Linked DNA regions of Homo sapiens: region 2 is linked to region 1. The links are contacts of gene promoters, found by promoter capture Hi-C in blood cells and fetal thymus (Javierre and others, 2016). All regions are on one chromosome and are shown on one strand. The core of a region is centred on a gene start or on the middle of the fragment in contact, and the rest is flanking DNA. Distances in the headings are between cores, read along the strand shown.

Region 1 (4,885 bases), core at 1,172-3,671:
TATTATTATTATTATTTTGAGATGGAGTTTCACTCTTGTTGCCCAGGCTGGAGTGTAATGGTGCAATCTTGGCTCACTGCAACCTCTGCCTCCCGGGTTCAAGCAATTCTCCTGCCTCAGCCTCCTGAGTAGCTGGGATTATAGGCGCCTGCCACCACACCCAGCTAATTTTTGTATTTTTAGTAGAGACGGGGTTTCACCATGTTGGCCAGGCTGGTCTCAAACTCCATACCTCAGGTGATCCACCCACCTTGGCCTCCCAAAGTGCTGGGATTACAGGTGCGAACCACTGCACCCAGCCAACAAACACTTCTTTAGCACGACCTGGCATGGGGAACTGCTCACCCCTTTGATGAAGGTGGGTTTGTCCTTGATGCCAAAATTCCAGAGCATGATATCTCCCCCTTTGGAACCCACAGCCACGGTGCTGGGGTGAGTTGGGTGCCACGCCAAGGATGTAGCCCTCCTGTCAAAGGGGGCAGCCTTTTGTAATATCCGGTAAGAATCCAGAGTGTGCAAAAAGGACTGCTGGAGCCCCTGCCACAGAGAGAAATGAATTAGGTTGAATTAAAACCCAAGTTCTGGGTAAACTGCCAATCTCTGCCTCCTTCATGGATGAGCCCTAGATCCAAGTCCTCCCACCAAAGGAAAGCTAACTGCCTGCCCTGTGCATGAAAATATTTGCAATGTACACGAACGAATAATCTTGGAAAGCAAAAGGGGCAGAGTGCATTCCAGCTGGGACCTTTACAACATAAGACATTTTTTACCTGGCTGAGTGCCCAGTAGGCCAGTCACCACAGTCTGGGTGATCGGACCACTCTGACAAGCTGGTGAACCAAGCCATCATCTAATTTGGGAGCATGCAATAGTAAAAATGCACGTGTAAACCCTTGAGGACTTGAGGCAAAAAATGCCTTACCTGCTGGACAGATGGCCAGGAAGCTCTGCCCAGCTTATGCTGGTGGAGGGTCCTGACGATGCTGCGGCATGGTGGCAGGATCTGTGGGCCAGCCAGCCCCACCCAGAGGCAGTCTGAGTCACATCTTCTGCTAGGACCTGCCAAGCAGAACAGACATATTTTCCTCTCCAATCTCACGAAAGGTTTTTCTGCTGAATTCCCCGAAAGGAAGCCTTGTTTCATTCGGCACGGTTAATCTCTGTCTCATCACCTCCTGCGGCCTTTCCATGTCTGTGTGGTCTCAACGAGCACCAGAAATAAAAAAATGAGTGAGGATTTGGCCCCTTCCCCAAAACACTCCCACAAACAGTAAGTCTGAAGTGAAAGTAAATACAGTCGTGCAGGGTTCCTGAGACCCCAGCCAAAGAAACACACAAGGATAAAGTACAATGCAGAACTCTTCCCAGTTTGGGCTGCAAAACTCGAGATGGGACTGGGTCACAATTTTATAAATCACATATAATGCACAATAAAAAGATTTTAGGGCAGCATGGCAGAAGTCACCGTTTAGGAAAAGAAGGAATAGGAAGGCCTGGAAATGCTCTTAACTAGGTTACTTCTGGGGAGGTAAGTGAAATTAGAATAGCAATAAAGCAACAACTCCTGATCACCAAACTGTATTTGAGGACCCAATCACTATAGGTCCGACGTCTTGACAACCAATTCTTTCTTCTCATGGACAAAAACCACTTGATTAACAAGCCCCAGCTCGTTTTTGAGTGTCTCGAAACTCCTTATAGCCCCAGGTTCAAGCCCCAGTAAACCTCAGAGAATGAGCTTTCTAAGGAGGAAGGAATTGGGGGCTCTCACAACTGACCACCGAGGACGTGCAGCTAACAAGCGTGACTATGAAATCCAGCACACACAGCGCCAGGAAAGGTAGGATTCTCTGAAGCCGTCCTAACTGTGCAAGAACCCTGATACGAACAAGGAATCTGACAAGTCCGTGTGTCTGTTGTTACGGAGCTCATCTGCTTCCTGTTACCTAGCGGGAGAGGTGTTGAAACCTAAACACTCTGGTGTCAAAGGACCTGCAGGTAGAATGCACAGCCGGAGGCACCCGTGACCTGCGCGGGCCTCGGGAGCCTCGGAGCACCCATCCCCCGCTGCAGCCTCCTGCGCGAGCACCCTAAAAGGCGGAAATATTCAAGCAGCAGGCACAGGCAGTACCGGAGCCCTTCGCACAGAGCTTCTTGGCCTCGGGCTCCAGCTCCAGGGGACTCCTGCTCCTCTTGTTCCTGGGGCGTAATACAATCTCGGAGGTCTTCTGGGTTTCTGGGCGTTTCTTGGGAGCCATCGCGTCCTCCGTGTGAAGGGGTACTGTGCTCTATGCGAAGATCATGGAGGGAGGATTGAGAGGCCTCTGGGGAGAAACAAGGCGGGGACTACAAAACTGCGGGGCCACAGGTAGCCGAGCTAAGCCAACTTCCCGCCAAACATGCCCAGGGCTTGTTCAAACCAGCTTGGAGCTCCGGCCCCACCCGTCTCGGAGACCCCGCCCCTTCCTGGAAGGCGGGGGCGCGGGGAGGGGGTGGTGCCAAGGGGCGGTGCCAGCGCTCCCGGGAGGGGCGGGAACTGCGCCAGGGCCAGTGCCAGCCCGGGTCAGCTGACCTCCCTGGAGCAAAGATGGTCCCCGGCTTTATGGATTTTTTTTTTTTTTTTAGCAACAGGGTCTGGCTCTGTCGCTCACTCTGGAGGGCAGTGGGGCGATCATAGCTCAGTGCAGCCTCCACCTCCTGGGCTCAAGCGATCCTCCCACCTCAGCCTCCTAAGTAGATGGGACTACAAGCGTACGCCACCACGCCCGGCTAATTTCTCTCTCTCTCTCTCTTTTTTTCTTTTTCTGGAGAGACGGGGTCTCGCTTTGTTGTCCGGGCCGGTCTTTAACTCCTGGGCTTAAGCGATCATCCAGCCTTGACTTCCTGACACGAACCCTCCTCAAACGCGGCGCTGCCAGGCCTCTGCGGGTCCGGGGAGGAGGCCCGGTGCCAGCCAAGGCTCTGTCTCCCGCCTTGCAATTGGTGATGACGCCCGCTCGGGCTTTGGGATTGGCTGGTCCCTACAGGGTGTAGTTGGGGAGTGGCGGCTTTGTAGAGAGCTAGTGCCTTTCCTAAGTTAGAAGCTGGGCTCTACCAGCGGTCAGCTTTGCAGTCGGATTCCAGAAACTACAGTCCCATCGAATCCAAGCTGCTTCTCTGTGAAGGGAGAATGATTGGAACTCCTTGCCTTTTTTTTTTTTTTTTTTTTTTTTTCCTAGAGGCAGTGTCTCTCTTCCGTTACCCAGGCTGGAGTGCAGTGATGTAATCACAGCTCACTGCAGCCTTGACCTCAAGTTTCACTGATCCTCCCACCTCAGCCTCCCAAGTAGGCTTGCAGACCTGTATCCCCAAGCCTAATTTTTTTATTTTTATTTTTGTAGAGACAAGGTCTTGCTATGTTTCCCACGTTGGTCTGGACCTCCTGGGCTCAAGTGATCCTCCTGCCTCTGCCTCCCAAAGTGCTGGGATTACAGGCATGAGCCACCGTGTCTGGTTCTCACTGCTCTTTTATTTGTTTGGTCGTTGGCTGTTTTTATTTTTTCTTTCTTTCTTTCTCTCTTTCTTTTTTTTTTTTTTTTTTTTGAGACAGGGCCTCTCTCTGTCACCCAGGCTGGAGTGCAGTGGCAGGATGTGGGCTCAATGCAGGCTGGACTTCCTGGACATCGATCCTCCCACCTCAGCCTCCCGAGTAGCTGGGACTACAGGTGCGCGCCGCAACACTCAGCTAATTTTTGCATTTTTTGTAGAGACAGAGTCTCCCTAAGTTGCCTAGGCTGGTCTAGAACTCCTGGCATCCATCCACCTCGGTCTGCCAAAGTGCTGAGATTACAGGTGTGAGCCACTGTGCCCAGCCTCCTCACTGCTTTTTTTTTTTTTTTTTTTTTGAGACGGAGTCTCACTCTGTTGCCCAGGCCGGAGTGCAGTGGCACAATCTCGGCTCACTGCAATCTCCGCCTCCCGGGTTCAAGCGATTCCCCTGCCTCAGTCTCCGGAGCAGCTGGGACTAGAGGCACACACCACCACGCCTGACTAATTTTTTGTATTTTAGTAGAGACAGGGTTTCACCATGTTGGCCAGGATGGTCTCGATCTTCTGACCTTGTGATCTGCCTGCCTCGGCCTCCCAAAATGCTGGGATTATAGGCGTGAGCCACCATGCCCAGCCTCTTGGCCTCTCACTGCTTTTAACTAAGACTTGCCTAACCTGTTGGGTGTCCACCTAGGAGCAGCCTGGGACGTGATGGGCCAGAGGGCGTGCAGCCAGCGGTACTTAGAACTCCTACGCCCTCGCTTCAGCCAAAGTCCAAGTCTTGAAGGTTCACAGGTGAGGCCGCGCTGTCCTGCCTAGCCTGAGAAGAGACAGTTTGGATGCACCCTAGTTTCTGCGAAGAGGCAGGCAGGAGTTGGGCTTACTCAGGCATTGCTGGGCCTTTCCTCCACCCACTAAGCCCCGTGCCTGACAGTTTGTGGGGGTGGGAGGAGATATACAAAAATGCATTAATGGTAGGCCATCGCATTGGCTCAAGCCTGTAATCCCAGCACTTTGGGAGCCTAAGGCAGGTGAATCACTTGAGGCCAGGAGTTCAAGACCAGCCGGGCCAACATGGTGAAACCCTTTCTCTACTAAAAATACCATCAGGCGCAGTGGCTCATGCCTGTAATCCCAGCGCTTTGGGAGGATGAAGCAGGCAGATCACTTGAGGTCAGGAGTTCGAGACTAGCCTGACCAACATGGTGAAACCCCGTCTCTACTAAAAATACAAAAATTAGCTGGGGCGTGGTGGCACTTGCCTGTGGTCCCAGCTACTCAGGAGGCTGAGGTAGGAGAATCGCTTGAACCGAGGAGAGGGAGGCTGCAGTGAGCCAAGATCATGCCACAGCATTCC
Region 2 (5,105 bases), core at 909-3,408, 360 kb after region 1:
GACTCATGGCAGCAGAGCGAGAGTAACCTCCCAAAAAAGGTTATAAGTTGCAGGACCCCACTATATTGACGTTTAGGACCCAGATAAGAAGATTTCCTTTTTTTTAGTTTTTTTTCTTTCTTTCTTTCTTTTTTTTTTTTTAATGGAATCTTGCTCTGTCACCCAGGCTGGAGTGCAGTGGCATGATCTTGGCTCACTGTAACCTCAGCCTCCGGAGTTCAAGGGATTCTCCTGCCTCAGCCTCCCAAATAGCTGGGATTACAGGCACCCGCCACCAAACCCAGCTGATTTTTGTATTTTTAGTAGAGATGGGGTTTCACCATGTTGGCCAGGCTAGTCTCGAACTCCTGAACTCAAGTGATCTGCCCGCCTGGGCCTCCCAAAGTGCTGGGATTACAGGTGTAAGCCACCACGCCCGGCCAGATAAGAGGATTTTCTAGAGTCCCCTGTCTTACCTCCCAAGTTTTCTCCTTAACAAAATTAGAAAAAAGAGATACAAACTAGCACCCGAAGTAGCTTAAAATCCTGAATAAATGTACATTTAATTGCTCTTGCCAATTGCTTTTGATGATTTATATCAGCATGATGTCCCATTAATAAACCACAGTAACAATGTAACATAGCTAACATGTTATAGTGCATCTTGTGTCAAGCTCCCTGATAACTGCATTCCATGTATCATCTCATTTAAGGTGACAGCAGTTGGTTGTGAGGTGTGGATACTGTTACTCTCCTCACACTGCAGAGTCTTAAGAGACTGAGTTTTAGAAATGTGAAATAATTTGCCTAAGGTGACAAAGCCAGTGAGTGGCTGCTGCAGGACCGGAAGCCATGGTTTTCCCTCCTCCTGTATGGTAATGGTAATAATTATCACAGCTGCCTCTCCCCTTTTAGGCTAGGCCTCATACACTTGTCTTAATCACATTTCCCCATTTGTTTGTGGGATTTTTGTGCGCTTCACTCCTACTCTTACCCCATCCACTTCCTTTTTCAGTTTACCATGGGATCCTTTGTAGAAGGCCAACTGACTGACCATATCTGCCCACTCTCCACCCTAGGGAGGGCCTGACCATAACTACACCAAGGAGAAGATCAAGATCGTAGAGGGAATCTGCCTCCTGTCTGGGGATGATGCTGAGTGGGATGACCTCAAGCAACTGCGAAGCTCACGGGGGGGCCTCCTCCGGGATCATGTATGCATGAAGACAGACACGGTGTCCATCCAGGCCAGCTCTGGCTCCCTGGATGACACAGAGACGGAGCAGCTGTTACAGGAAGAGCAGTCTGAGTGTAGCAGCGTCCATACTGCAGCCACTCCAGAAAGACGAGGCTCTCTGCCAGACACGGGCTGGAAACATGAACGCAAGCTCTCCTCAGAGAGCCAGGTCTAAATGCCCACATTCTCTTCCCTGCCTGCCTGTTCCTTCTCCTTTATGGACGTCTAGTCCTTGTGCTCGCTTACACCGCAGGCCCCGCTTCTGTGTGCTTGTCCTCCTCCTCCTCCCACCCCATAACTGTTCCTAAGCCTTCACCGGAGCTGTTTACCACGTGAGTCCATAACTACCTGTGCACAAGAAATGATGGCACATCACGAGAATTTAGACCTGGATTTTACCATGAACCTCACATCTTGTACTCCATCCTGGGCCCCCTGAAACTGCTTATTCGTGATTCCTCACCAGCGTAGAGCTCCACCTCCCCTTTCCCCAGTACCCTCAGTGCCTGCTTCTCAGTGCTGATGCAGCTGATGACCCAGGACTGCGCTCTGCCCCATCACAGCCAGCATGACTGCTTCTCTGAGAGAACTTGCCCATCAGGGGCTGGGACATGGGGGTGTGGGTAAAGACAGGGATGAAGGATAGAGGCTGAGAGAAGAAGGAAGAATCAGCCCAGCAGGTATGGGCATCTGGGAAACCTCCAGCCTCAAGTGTGTTAGTAACATGAAAAAGCTTTGGGGGGTAGTTGGATCTGGGTGTCTGGTCCATTGCTGGCAGTGGACATTATTCTTGCCCTAAGAGACACTGCCTTTTCAGCAGCAGATACTGGTGAGATGGGGGTGGCTCAGGCTGTTCTTCCTCCTCCTAGAATGTCTGGAGCTGTTTCTACATTCAGATAACTGGGTCCCCTATCACAAGGCTACTGGCTAATAGGAATTCCCTCCTGGTGCCACCACTGGCCAGTACCTTTCCTAAGTCTTTGCTCAAATTAACCAGGTTGTGAGCCAGTGGCTTGAGTGAATGTTAGGCCTTGGGGGCTGAGTCTCTGAAAAGTCTAAGAAGCTCTGCCTAGACCAAATATGGTATACCTCCTGACCCCTCTCTCCCTCATGTCCTGGGATTCTGGGGAAGAGACCTAGAAACAAGCTTTCAAAGAAAAACCAGAAGTTGTCATAAATGGTCAGAAAGAACGATCAGGTTGGAGACTTGGGAAACCCAGGGCCTAAAGAGAAGTATCCATGAGGGTCAAACTTCCTGTTGAACTTCCTATGTTCTTTCTCAAGTGCTCAGGGATCTAAGTTAGTGGACAGCAAGCCTGTGGCTACGGGGTGGTGATGTTCCTCTTCCAGCTGTCCCCTCAGCTAAGGGGCTTAGTTTCCATGTGGGATGCCATCACTTGGTTCATGCTCATTCACACAAAGGGCACGTGTCTCAGCCTGGTATCAGGGAAATTGAGACTTATTTTTGCCCTAAAACGTCTCCCTAGCTGTTCTTCGTGGGGTTTTTTTGTTTGTTTTTTTGCCTAATTTGCTTTTTCTGACCAAGCCTTGTGGCACCAGCAATCTCCAAAGTCCTGTGGTGGGAGGGCTGAATAAATAAAAATACAAAGAGGTGGGTAAGGAGTAGGAAGGTAGAGAGCACCACTGATGAGGCCCTCCTAGCCCATGGCAGACCCAGACCTCTTCTCCCCCAGGAATTAGAAGTGGCAGGAGAGAACAACAGGGGCTGGGAATGGAGGGGAGAATTTCTAGGGGAAGTTTCCTGAGTTGAAACTTCTCCTGTGGTTACTGGTATTGAGAAATCAGCTACCAAAGTGAAAAAGGACAAGATCAATTCTTTTCTAGTCAGTTCTAAGACTGCTAGAGAGAGATACCAGGCCCTTAGCCTTGCTCTCAGTAGCGTCAGCCCCAGTTCTGAGCCTCCCCACATTACACTTAACAAGCAGTAAAGGAGTGAGCACTTTGGGTCCTTAGACTCACGTCTGGGGAGGAAGAGCAAGTAGAAAAGTGGCATTTTCTTGATTGGAAAGGGGGAAGGATCTTATTGCACTTGGGCTGTTCAGAATGTAGAAAGGACATATTTGAGGAAGTATCTATTTGAGCACTGATTTACTCTGTAAAAAGCAAAATCTCTCTGTCCTAAACTAATGGAAGCGATTCTCCCATGCTCATGTGTAATGGTTTTAACGTTACTCACTGGAGAGATTGGACTTTCTGGAGTTATTTAACCACTATGTTCAGTATTTTAGGACTTTATGATAATTTAATATAAATTTAGCTTTTCTTAATCACCTTGCCTGGCTTGGAGTCATGACTAATCCTGCACCTGCTCTGTCTGGCAGACCCATGCTGTGGAAAACCTGCTTACAGACATCACTTTTAAGTCCTTTGTGGATGTGGGCACAGTGAAGAGCAATAAAGAGTGTGAGGTTCCTGCTGGAGTTTTCAGCTCATCTGGAGAAGACAGGTCGAGGCCAGAGTTCCTTGACTGATGAAACCTTTATTTCCTCTGGAAGAGGAATGGTAGATGGGTTTCCTCTTGAGTGCTGACTCTGACTGGTTGGTAGTGGCTGCCTGAGGGCCTATTCGCACCCAATGGGAAGAATGTCATATGGCTAGTGACATCTCTTCTGTGCACTGGAAGGAAATGTCATGGCATGTATACCATGTATCTTCTATTTCTGTTCTAGGTCTTTGTTACAGAACTTTACTTTGCCTTGCAGTGATGGTCACTGGCAAGACTATCTCATGTAGTAAGAAAAGTACTGGAGCTGGGGACATGGAGGGCTAATTCCAGTCCCAGATCTGCCACTAGCTCTGTTTGATCTTAGTCAACTTTCATAGTTAGTCTGAGAGTGGATCAAATTATCACTAGGATTTCATTTATTTTTAAAAGCTGTCTTTTCATAGCTCATCCACTACTTCTCAAGGCTAGAACAAGGAGCTAGGGATCCCTTCTCAGGTTCTCTGGATGTGATATCCCTCAGTGAAAACTGGGAATCATGTTAATCTCAACGCCCGATGTAGAATTTCATGTCAAGTCTCAATAGTTGATTTTCTAAACCACACACCATCTATAGGATAATATCCCCATTCATTCATTCATTCATTCATTCATTCATCTGCTATGGGCTAGGCACTGCCCATGCCTAAACAAAGACATAATCTTACAGAGCTTAGAGTCTAGCAACACCATTACCACCACCATCCCAAAAAAAGACAAAAAATGAAAGTAAGAAAGACTGAAGCTTCTTGTATTTAAGTGACCAGAGATCTGAGTATAAGCTACAGTGTATAATTTTTCTAACTGTAGTAAGGAGTAGGTGTGCCAGAACAAAAACAAGTAGAATAGCCCAAGGATAACCATCCCTCCAACCCCCACTGTTCTCTTTGGGAGGGAAAAAAAAAGCAGAAAAGGAGGACATCTTGGGATAAAACAAAGGTTGGGAATTCCTTGTCTAGTTCTCTGGTATAAAATCTGAAACTAGGGTCAGGCACAGTGGCTACACCAAAGTAATCTCACCACTTTGGGAGGCCAAGACAGAAGTAAGGAGTATTGCTTGAGGCCTGGAGTTCACGATCAGCCTGGGCAACATGACAGGACCATATCTCTACAAAAAAATTTAAAAATATTAGTCAGGTGTGGTAGCTCATGCCTGTAGTCCCAGCTGCTTGGGAGGCTGAGGCAGGAGGATTGCTTGAGCCCAGGAGTTCAAGGTTACAGTGAGCTATGATCACGCCACTGCATTCCATCCTGGGTAACAGAGCAAAACCTTGTCACTAAAAAAACAAAACAAAAAAACCCTGAAACTGATAAGTGAGCAGATGGTGGGTCAAGTTCTAACAAACTGGCCATATTTTTGCAAACTCACTCAAAATACAGTCACGG

What was found. The method cuts DNA at HindIII sites, captures the fragments that hold promoters and counts their contacts. A CHiCAGO score of 5 or more calls a contact.
Region 2: a contact is called between a fragment that was not itself captured here and the fragment with the promoter of DDB2 in region 1, in 1 of 17 cell types (erythroblasts). The highest score is 5.1, in erythroblasts.

Annotation. Positions count from the first base shown.
Region 1 is chr11:47,212,510-47,217,394 of GRCh38, reverse strand. DDB2 (damage specific DNA binding protein 2) reads right to left here and starts at 2,421. Exons shown (of 10, transcript NM_000107.3): 1 at 2,132-2,421; 2 at 923-1,059; 3 at 346-537. The coding sequence starts at 2,258. RefSeq lists enhancers at 2,089-2,368, 1,658-2,857, 2,699-2,938, 2,145-2,980, 2,981-3,817 and a silencer at 2,419-2,628. The HindIII fragment of the contact is 21,566 bases long and covers 1-4,885 here.
Region 2 is chr11:46,855,269-46,860,373 of GRCh38, reverse strand. It overlaps LRP4 (LDL receptor related protein 4), which reads left to right. Exons shown (of 38, transcript NM_002334.4): 38 at 1,059-3,657. The coding sequence ends at 1,391. All of the region lies in intron 2 of LRP4-AS1 (LRP4 antisense RNA 1), which reads right to left. Among named protein-coding and RNA genes, the nearest start is that of LRP4-AS1, 11 kb to the right of the region's middle. The HindIII fragment of the contact is 414 bases long and covers 1,952-2,365 here.